Regions from separate parts of the Homo sapiens genome. Here regions 1 and 2 are each linked to region 3. Evidence: promoter capture Hi-C in human tissues and cell types (Jung and others, 2019). All regions are on one chromosome and are shown on one strand. Each heading gives the region's core, a stretch centred on a gene start or on the middle of the fragment in contact. The rest is flanking DNA. Distances are from core to core; before and after follow the strand shown.

Evidence for each region. Contacts are between HindIII fragments. The study calls those that stand out against the background at their distance.
Region 1: a fragment that was not itself captured here is called in contact with the fragment with the promoter of KCNF1 in region 3 in 2 of the 25 tissues and cell types used here (dorsolateral prefrontal cortex and hippocampus).
Region 2: a fragment that was not itself captured here is called in contact with the fragment with the promoter of KCNF1 in region 3 in 5 of the 25 tissues and cell types used here (IMR-90 fibroblasts, aorta, hippocampus and 2 more).

The regions. Positions count from the first base shown.
Region 1 is chr2:11,008,719-11,011,418 of GRCh38, forward strand. No RefSeq gene overlaps it. Among named protein-coding and RNA genes, the nearest start is that of KCNF1, 98 kb to the left of the region's middle. The HindIII fragment of the contact is 3,995 bases long and covers 1-2,700 here.
Region 2 is chr2:10,983,610-10,986,309 of GRCh38, forward strand. No RefSeq gene overlaps it. Among named protein-coding and RNA genes, the nearest start is that of KCNF1, 73 kb to the left of the region's middle. The HindIII fragment of the contact is 5,936 bases long and covers 1-2,700 here.
Region 3 is chr2:10,910,632-10,913,331 of GRCh38, forward strand. KCNF1 (potassium voltage-gated channel modifier subfamily F member 1) reads left to right here and starts at 1,303. Exons shown (of 1, transcript NM_002236.5): 1 at 1,303-2,700. The coding sequence starts at 1,796. The HindIII fragment of the contact is 13,350 bases long and covers 1-2,700 here.

The DNA of each region.
Region 1 (2,700 bases), core at 10-2,509, 98 kb after region 3:
GATATACCTAATGTAAATGACAAGTTAATGGGTGCAGCACACCAACATGGCACAGGTATACATATGTAACAAACCTGCACGTTGTGCATATGTACCCTAGAACTTAAAGTATAATAATAATAATAAAAAAGCCTAACTACACCTCTTTCTTCCTTCTTTCTCAGAAATCCATGTGGTCCCTAAAACAGGTCTTACTCCATTTTTTAAACCAAAAACTATGAAGTCCCAGACAGGTTATGCACATGGCCAATGACACAGCTGTTAAGATCCCACGTTGGCTGACTCTTGTTCCCAGGTTTTCCAAAAGCCAAAATGTCCCAGTAACAGCTGACACTTAGATGCCATTTACTTTGTAGGCCCCTCTTGAGTTTCATGAAACCCAAGGAGCGACTAGACGATCCCATGGGGGGCTACTAGATTCTTGTCTTATATAGAAGCACAAGCACAGAGGAAGGTTACCTCTTCTGTCCCTCTGACATGAATGTTCTTGAGCTGGGCCTGGGTCCAGGTGACTGGAGATGTTGCTATGTGTTAAGAACGCATTAATTTCAGTGGCAAAAACCACAATTACTTTTGCATCAACCTAATAAATGTTACGCACTCTAAACCTTATTGTATATATTATTGTAATAAATAATTGAATTAATTAACATTTATAAATAACATTTAAATATATTAACACTTAATATTAATATCCACTGTTAATATTTGATACAATCAATGTTTTAAATTAATCATTAAATCTCTAATGAATAGATATTTATATTTGCTGAGCAATAACTTGATCATTGGTGAAGCTGGTGGTGGGTACACGATAGCTTATTTTACTATTCTCCCAATGTTTAAATATATTTGAAATTTTCCAGAGTAGGGAGTTGAGAAAAAATTAATGTGACAAGCCTTTCTTCCTTCCCCAAGGACACGTAAAAGTCTTAGAGCTTGTGGCTGCACCATCTTTTCTCCCTGGTGTGTTGTAGAAGGACTTGGAGGCCCCGGACAGATGTCCAGATGGTGGGTTCAAGTTCTGCTTAGTTTTCACACCCACACACATATTCACTCACTCCATTTCTATGGTGAAGTTCAACTTGTTGGTTTCCATTTTTAGGCCCTACATTTTTCTTATTTGGTCGGCTTAGAGGGACAGAGAAGGAAAGAGCATTTCTCATCCCGGAAGCTTGAGGGAGGTGAGGAGCCTTATTCAGCCCACCTCGTCTGGGAAGCCTTCTGGGAGGACCTGAAATCTGAGGAGGGCTTTGAGCTGTTTTCTGCAGAGACAGGAGGCTGTTCCCAGAATCCGTAGGCAGAGCCTGTGCAGGCACAGATGCTGCAGCAGAAGGAGGAGGCCAAGGGGACACAGGCCCGAGCCCCGCCCTTTGCTGCGTGAGACTATGGCAGATGCATCCATTCACATAACATCCACCCAAGCCAACGCCAGATGCTGGGACACAGGGAAAACCAAGGACTTGATCCTGTGCTCACAGACTCCAGAGCTCTGGGGCAGGCAGCATCATAAACAGCTAGACTAGCATGATGGCATTAGGAAAGCAGGAAGCCCAGGGAGGTGTGTGAGGACTGCAGGAGGCAGGCCACGTGCCGGAGGGGCAGACATCCTGAGAGACCAGAGGGGGTGAGACCAAGGGTCAGGGGTGGTGGGACGGTGGATTCCAGGAAGCGGGTGAAGAAGAAATGAAAGATTGGAGGTGAGAGAGCTCAATGTGTTTCGGCTTTAGTTCGACTGCAGTGTGGAGTAGTGGTGGGCAGGGTGGGGAAAAGGATCAAGAGATGAGGCTGGACAGTTACAGGGGCTCATGATAGTATAGCCCATTTGAGAACACACAGATACACTCTGTTTTTATCCTGGCAGCATAGAGGAAAAATAATGGAAGGGGCTAGATTGCAGACCAAGGAGGCCAGTTGGGCAACTGTTGTAGAATGAAGAAGGAGACGAGGCCATGGCCCCAGGAAGCATGGGCAGTCACCAGTGTGCACAGGCACTGTCAAAGCCCTGGAGGTGGCTGACAGTTCCCACTCTGGGACAACTCTGACGCCATTGGCCTGGTACCGAGAGGAATCATGCTGAATCCTGCTCTCAAGAAAGTCACAGCTGGACTATTCACAATAGCAAAGACAAGGAATCAACCACACAAATGGCTGTCAAGGGTAGACTGGATAAAGAGAACGTGGTACATATACACCATGGAATACTACGCAGTCATCAAAGAACAAGATCATGTCCTTTGCAAGAACGTGGATGGAGCTGGAGGCCATTATCCTTAGCAAACTAACACAGGAACAGAAATCCTAACACTGCATGTTCTCACTTATAAATGGGAGCTAACTAGTGAGAACACGTGGACGCATAGTGTGGAACAACACACACTGGGGCCTATCGGAGGGTGGAGGGTGAGGAGGGAGAGGATCAGGAAAAATAACTAATGGGTACCAGCCTTAGTACCTAGGTGATGAAATCATCTGTACAACGAACCCCCATAACACAAGTTTACCTATATAACAAACCTGCACATGTACCCCTGAACTTAAAATAAAAGTCTAAAAAGTGAGAAAGTCACAGCTGGGTGATAAAGCTTCACTGGCATTGCAGGACAGCTCTCCTGGGCCTTGGACTAACCCAGTTCTCCCCCTCTCTCACTTGTAGTGCCTGAGAATAACCAGAACGTGCTGGAGTACATCATGTTCTGG
Region 2 (2,700 bases), core at 48-2,547, 73 kb after region 3:
GCTCTGCTCTTGGACCGAAAAAGTGTTGTGCTTTTTGGCTCTGCAACAGAGAAGCCCCCTTTGAAAGGCAGAGCGCGTCAGCCCTGGGAAGTTATCTGCTCAGCCTGGCGACATGAAGCGCTTCTCCAAGGCCACACTGTTCTGGTGGCTGACGGGAGGACAGACACACAGCCACACGGTCCCCAAGTCAGGGACAGCGCCAGGCATTCTGGAGGGGGAGAGGGGTCACAGGCTCTACTCATCCTGGCTGGCCAGCCCTGGAGATAACGCCCCCGGTGGGCTGGTGGCTGTGTCTAGGTGCCGCTGCTAGAGCGCCCTGGAAATCTCAAAGACCAGACAAGGACTCGGTTCTCACTGTTCTCCTGCCCAGCTGTTTGTTACAGAGAGCTAAGACTCGGGGTGGCAGCCATAGGGCTCACTGGAAGAAAGGGCTACAAGCTTATCCAGCCATGAGACAGTGACTCCCCTGCCCGGATACATGTGGTCAAAGACTGAGGAAGCCCTTGTCACTGGCCCCAAATCCCTCCATGACTTTTGCCCAACACCATGAAGGTGGAAGCCTCCAGCCCCATATTTGAGGCACCCCAACATCTGGCCTTCCTGTGTTTCTTTGTTTCCTACCCATACAGTGCCCTTGAAGCATTAGTCCAACTGTTTGCTTCTGAGAGGCAGGTTGGCCCCAGCACTGTTCCTTTATTTTTGTCTCAGGCTCACCTTCTTCCAAACATTCCCCAGAACACTCCTTCTCACCTGGAGTGTCCATGCCACCCCGTCCCCTCTGCGTGAGTGTTCATTTCACACGGCCTTCAAGGCCTAACCCAAAGACACCTGCCTCCTTCTCAGTGCCCAGTCCCCTCGGCTGGCAGGAACCCTGTGTCTGAACCCTGTCTCTTTACCTTTCTTTCCCTTGGAGACAAGGTGTTACAGTCATGTGTGTCTCCATCTTACGCACTGTAGACTGTTAGCTTGTGGAGGGCAGAATCAATGTCTAAATAGCCTGTGTATTTCGTGAATGACGTCAATGATGAGGGATTATTCACTGGGTAAGGTGGGAAGGAGTAAAGTCAAGTTTTCTGCAGGTTCCTTTCAAGATTCCAGCCTAAATTAAACTTTCAAATTCTGAAGCACCTCCAGGTTTTACCTCTAATCATGCATTTCCCAAAGTATTTTCTAGAGAACACTATGTCAAGAACTCCTGGAGTGTCTGAGAAATCCTGCAGATAAGAAACCCATTTATTTCATGTAGTCCAGCACTGCCCAAACTTGCCAGAGCACAAGGCTTATTTCAAGTAATGACCATTAACATCTGGAAGAGTTTAAAGAGAGTACACAGGGTAAAACTGCTCTAACGGAGAAGACTGGTGGAGATCCCTTCCAGAGTGTAGCAGACCTCCGTTTTTGAAAACAATCCTTTATTCATTGGAACCCCAGAGGAATAAGACCAGAGAATGGAGGCAGGAAGCTATTGGACAAAGCCACTGCAGCCCTTCATCTCTAAGGTCTTCCAGAACAGTGGGCAACCACCCCTGCCCACTCCCACTTTTTCTTCCTTTGGGATTGGGAGGCCTTTTAAAGAGATAGAGACCAAGAGGCTAAGGACCCAGAGTAAGAAATAGATTTACACCGCGACTCAGTACACATGTCTGAGGCCATGGAAATATCTGAATTAAAAGTTGCAGAAAGCAATACTTAGCCTTGCTACATGCAATATAGTCAACCTGATATGTTCAATCTAATTCCATTTCATTTTTTTCTTAAATCCTGGCTGTGATCCACTGAATGGAATTCATAAGCCTCTGATGCGTGTCAAAGCAGGCCTGTGTCTGAGGGACTGGAAGCAGCCAGCAGGGGACTGGATGGGGAGCGCCTTCTGAAGGGGCAGCTCCTTCTCACACTGACGGCTTCCTGTGAGGAAAGGCAGCCTGTCACCCACAGAGCCTCGGATTCTTCCAGAGAATCTGGAAAGCAGAATATGCATGTGAAAGGCCTTGGTTTTAAATGTCAGCAAATAATATTTTCATATATGTAGGCCGGGCATGGTGTCTCACGCCTGTAATCCCAGCACTTTGGGAGGCTGAGGCAGGCAGATCACGAGGTCAGGAGTTTGAGACCAGCCTGGCCAACATAGTGAAACCCCGTCTCTACTAAAAATACAAAAAAATCAGCCAGGTGTGGTGGTGGGTGCCTGCAATACTAGCTACTTGGGAGCTGAGGCAGGAGAATCTCTTGAACCTGAGAGGCAGAGGTTGCAGTGAGCCGAGATCACGCCGCTGTACTGCAGCCCAGGTCACAGTGCGAGACTATTTTCTGAGACTCCATCTCAAAAAATAAAAATTGAAATTAAAAATAAAATAAAATATGTAAAGTACCATGAAGGCAACTTCATAGACAAAGGCCGCGTCCAGAACAGAAGTGATGTTTTAGAGGCTGCAGAGCCCATGATGGGTGAGGGGAGCCAGGCGGGGACAGAAGCTGGGACTGTGGTGGGATGGCACATGGGCTGGACTGAGGTCAAGGCAATGAGACAGCTGGGGACTGGACAGACCCCACAGCCACCAAGGAGGCAGAATCCACACATCCTAAATACTGACGAGATGTGGGGTCCTAGGAGGAAGGGAGAAAAGCCACAGGGCAGTGGTGGGCTAGGAGCCCCAGGAGGAGAGGGCGTGGGCACTGGGGTTTGTCTCCAGCAGGGCCAGC
Region 3 (2,700 bases), core at 53-2,552:
ATCCATTAACGGACATGTCCTTAAGTTTTAAAAAACCCAGCCTACAGAATACATTTTTAAATAGACTTTATATTTTAGAGCACAATTCAACAGAAAGTACAGAGAATTCCCACATGCCCCCTGTCTCCACAGCTCTCCCCTGCGCATCAACATCTCACACAGGGTGGGACACTTGTCATGGTGGACCACCCCACATGGACACGTCATCATCGCCCAGCACCGAGTTTGCATTAACATTCGCTCCTGGTGGTGAACATTCTATGGATTTTGACCATTGCATAACGACACATATCCGCCATTATGGTACGTTTCACTGCCCTAAAAATCCTCTGCTCTGCCTATTCATTCTTCCCTCCAGAATATTTTTAACACGATCTCGAGGCCATAGATGATATCAGTAATTTGCAGTATTGATGATAGTGGTGAACCGGAGGAGAGAGACACTGTTAGGAAGCTGCTGTAGTGGTTCAGGTGAGTGAGGACAGAAGGACAGCTGTGGCTGCAAAGGCTGGAAGAGAGGAGGGTGTGGGACACTGGTCAGGAAGAGACAGGCCTTGGTCAAGGAGTGAGGAACGGGGAAGCAGGAGCCACTGGACCCTAGGGGTCTGGAAGCTAGTGGCCTTGGTGTGGGACTGCAGAGAGATAGGAGGTGCCAGACGGCAGGGACTTCAAGGCAGAATTGAAATCTGCTGAACAGCAGGCGTCGGTCAGCTGGGACAGCCGGAAAGCTCGGGATCAGGAGGCGGTCAAGCTGAGCTCTGCTCTCATTCCGCCGCGTGACCTTGGGCAAGTCCCTTCCCTTCTACAGGAGGCTGGACTAGATGTCCTCCTTGTACAGCGTTGCGGGGAAGGTGAGACAGTGCCACCAACACAGCAGGGCATTGCTGGGTCGGGGGGATGGGGCAGGAAACGCTTCAAGGATCAGGCAGGATTTTCCTCCCACCAGGAAAAGCCGGCGCGGGTCTAAGGCCGGAGGAGGGACCCAGACATAGGAGTCACCTTCTAAGGGGCTTCCTGGAGCACATTTTCCTGCCCAGCAACAGGCGGCAGCATTCTCTCCCCACTAATCCTCTCCAAACAGCAGTGAGAGAGAATGCCTGCCGCTTCAAGCCAGGTCGCAACCCCTCGGTGACCCGCTGCGCCCGAGGAGGGGCCGGCGGTGCGCGGTGGTGGCGGCGGGCGCGGCAGCTGTGCCCGTCTGCCCAAGGGTTAATCCGTCCCCTGCAGCTGCCGCGCGTGCCTTGCAGAATTTCACCAGAAGAGGGTACAGTTTGAAAAGCTCCTGACGTCAGGCTGGAATTCCTATTGTGTTTAGAAAAGGCTCGGGCAAAGCCAGCCCAAGTTCGCTCTCTGCACACCTCGAGCACCTCGCGGACGGCGTGGGTCCGCCAGCTCCGGGACCTGCCGCCGCTGCCTGCGCGCCCCGGGGCGGAGGACGGTGCCAGCCGCCCACGAGGAGACCCCGCTCCCGCAGGAGGCCGAGCTGAAGCGGCGGAGCGCGCCGCCAGCCAGCCGGGGTGAGTGCCCCGGGCGAGGCCGGCGGCCGCCAAAGCCCCCGCGGGCTCGCCCGGGCGCCCGGATGCCAGCCCCGAGCCCCGCCGCCGGGTGCATGCCTCCCCCGCGGCGCGCCCCCGCAGGCTGCTGCCCGCTGTGACCGCCCTTCCCCGCAGGCGGGCGCCGGCCAGGCTCTCCCCGAGATCAGCGCACGGGTGGCACCCGCCGGACCCCCAGCGGCAGCGGCGGCGGCGGCTGCAGGGGGCGCGGGGCGGAGGCTGCGAGGGCGCGCGCGGGGAGGATGGACGGGTCCGGGGAGCGCAGCCTCCCGGAGCCGGGCAGCCAGAGCTCCGCTGCCAGCGACGACATAGAGATAGTCGTCAACGTGGGGGGCGTGCGGCAGGTGCTGTACGGGGACCTCCTCAGTCAGTACCCTGAGACCCGGCTGGCGGAGCTCATCAACTGCTTGGCTGGGGGCTACGACACCATCTTCTCCCTGTGCGACGACTACGACCCCGGCAAGCGCGAGTTCTACTTTGACAGGGACCCGGACGCCTTCAAGTGTGTCATCGAGGTGTACTATTTCGGGGAGGTCCACATGAAGAAGGGCATCTGCCCCATCTGCTTCAAGAACGAGATGGACTTCTGGAAGGTGGACCTCAAGTTCCTGGACGACTGTTGCAAGAGCCACCTGAGCGAGAAGCGCGAGGAGCTGGAGGAGATCGCGCGCCGCGTGCAGCTCATCCTGGACGACCTGGGCGTGGACGCAGCCGAGGGCCGCTGGCGCCGCTGCCAGAAGTGCGTCTGGAAGTTCCTGGAGAAGCCCGAGTCGTCGTGCCCGGCGCGGGTGGTGGCCGTGCTCTCCTTCCTGCTCATCCTCGTCTCGTCCGTGGTCATGTGCATGGGCACCATCCCCGAGCTGCAGGTGCTGGACGCCGAGGGCAACCGCGTGGAGCACCCGACGCTGGAGAACGTGGAGACGGCGTGCATTGGCTGGTTCACCCTGGAGTACCTGCTGCGCCTCTTCTCGTCACCCAACAAGCTGCACTTCGCGCTGTCCTTCATGAACATTGTGGACGTGCTGGCCATCCTCCCCTTCTACGTGAGCCTCACGCTCACGCACCTGGGTGCCCGCATGATGGAGCTGACCAACGTGCAGCAGGCCGTGCAGGCGCTGCGGATCATGCGCATCGCGCGCATCTTCAA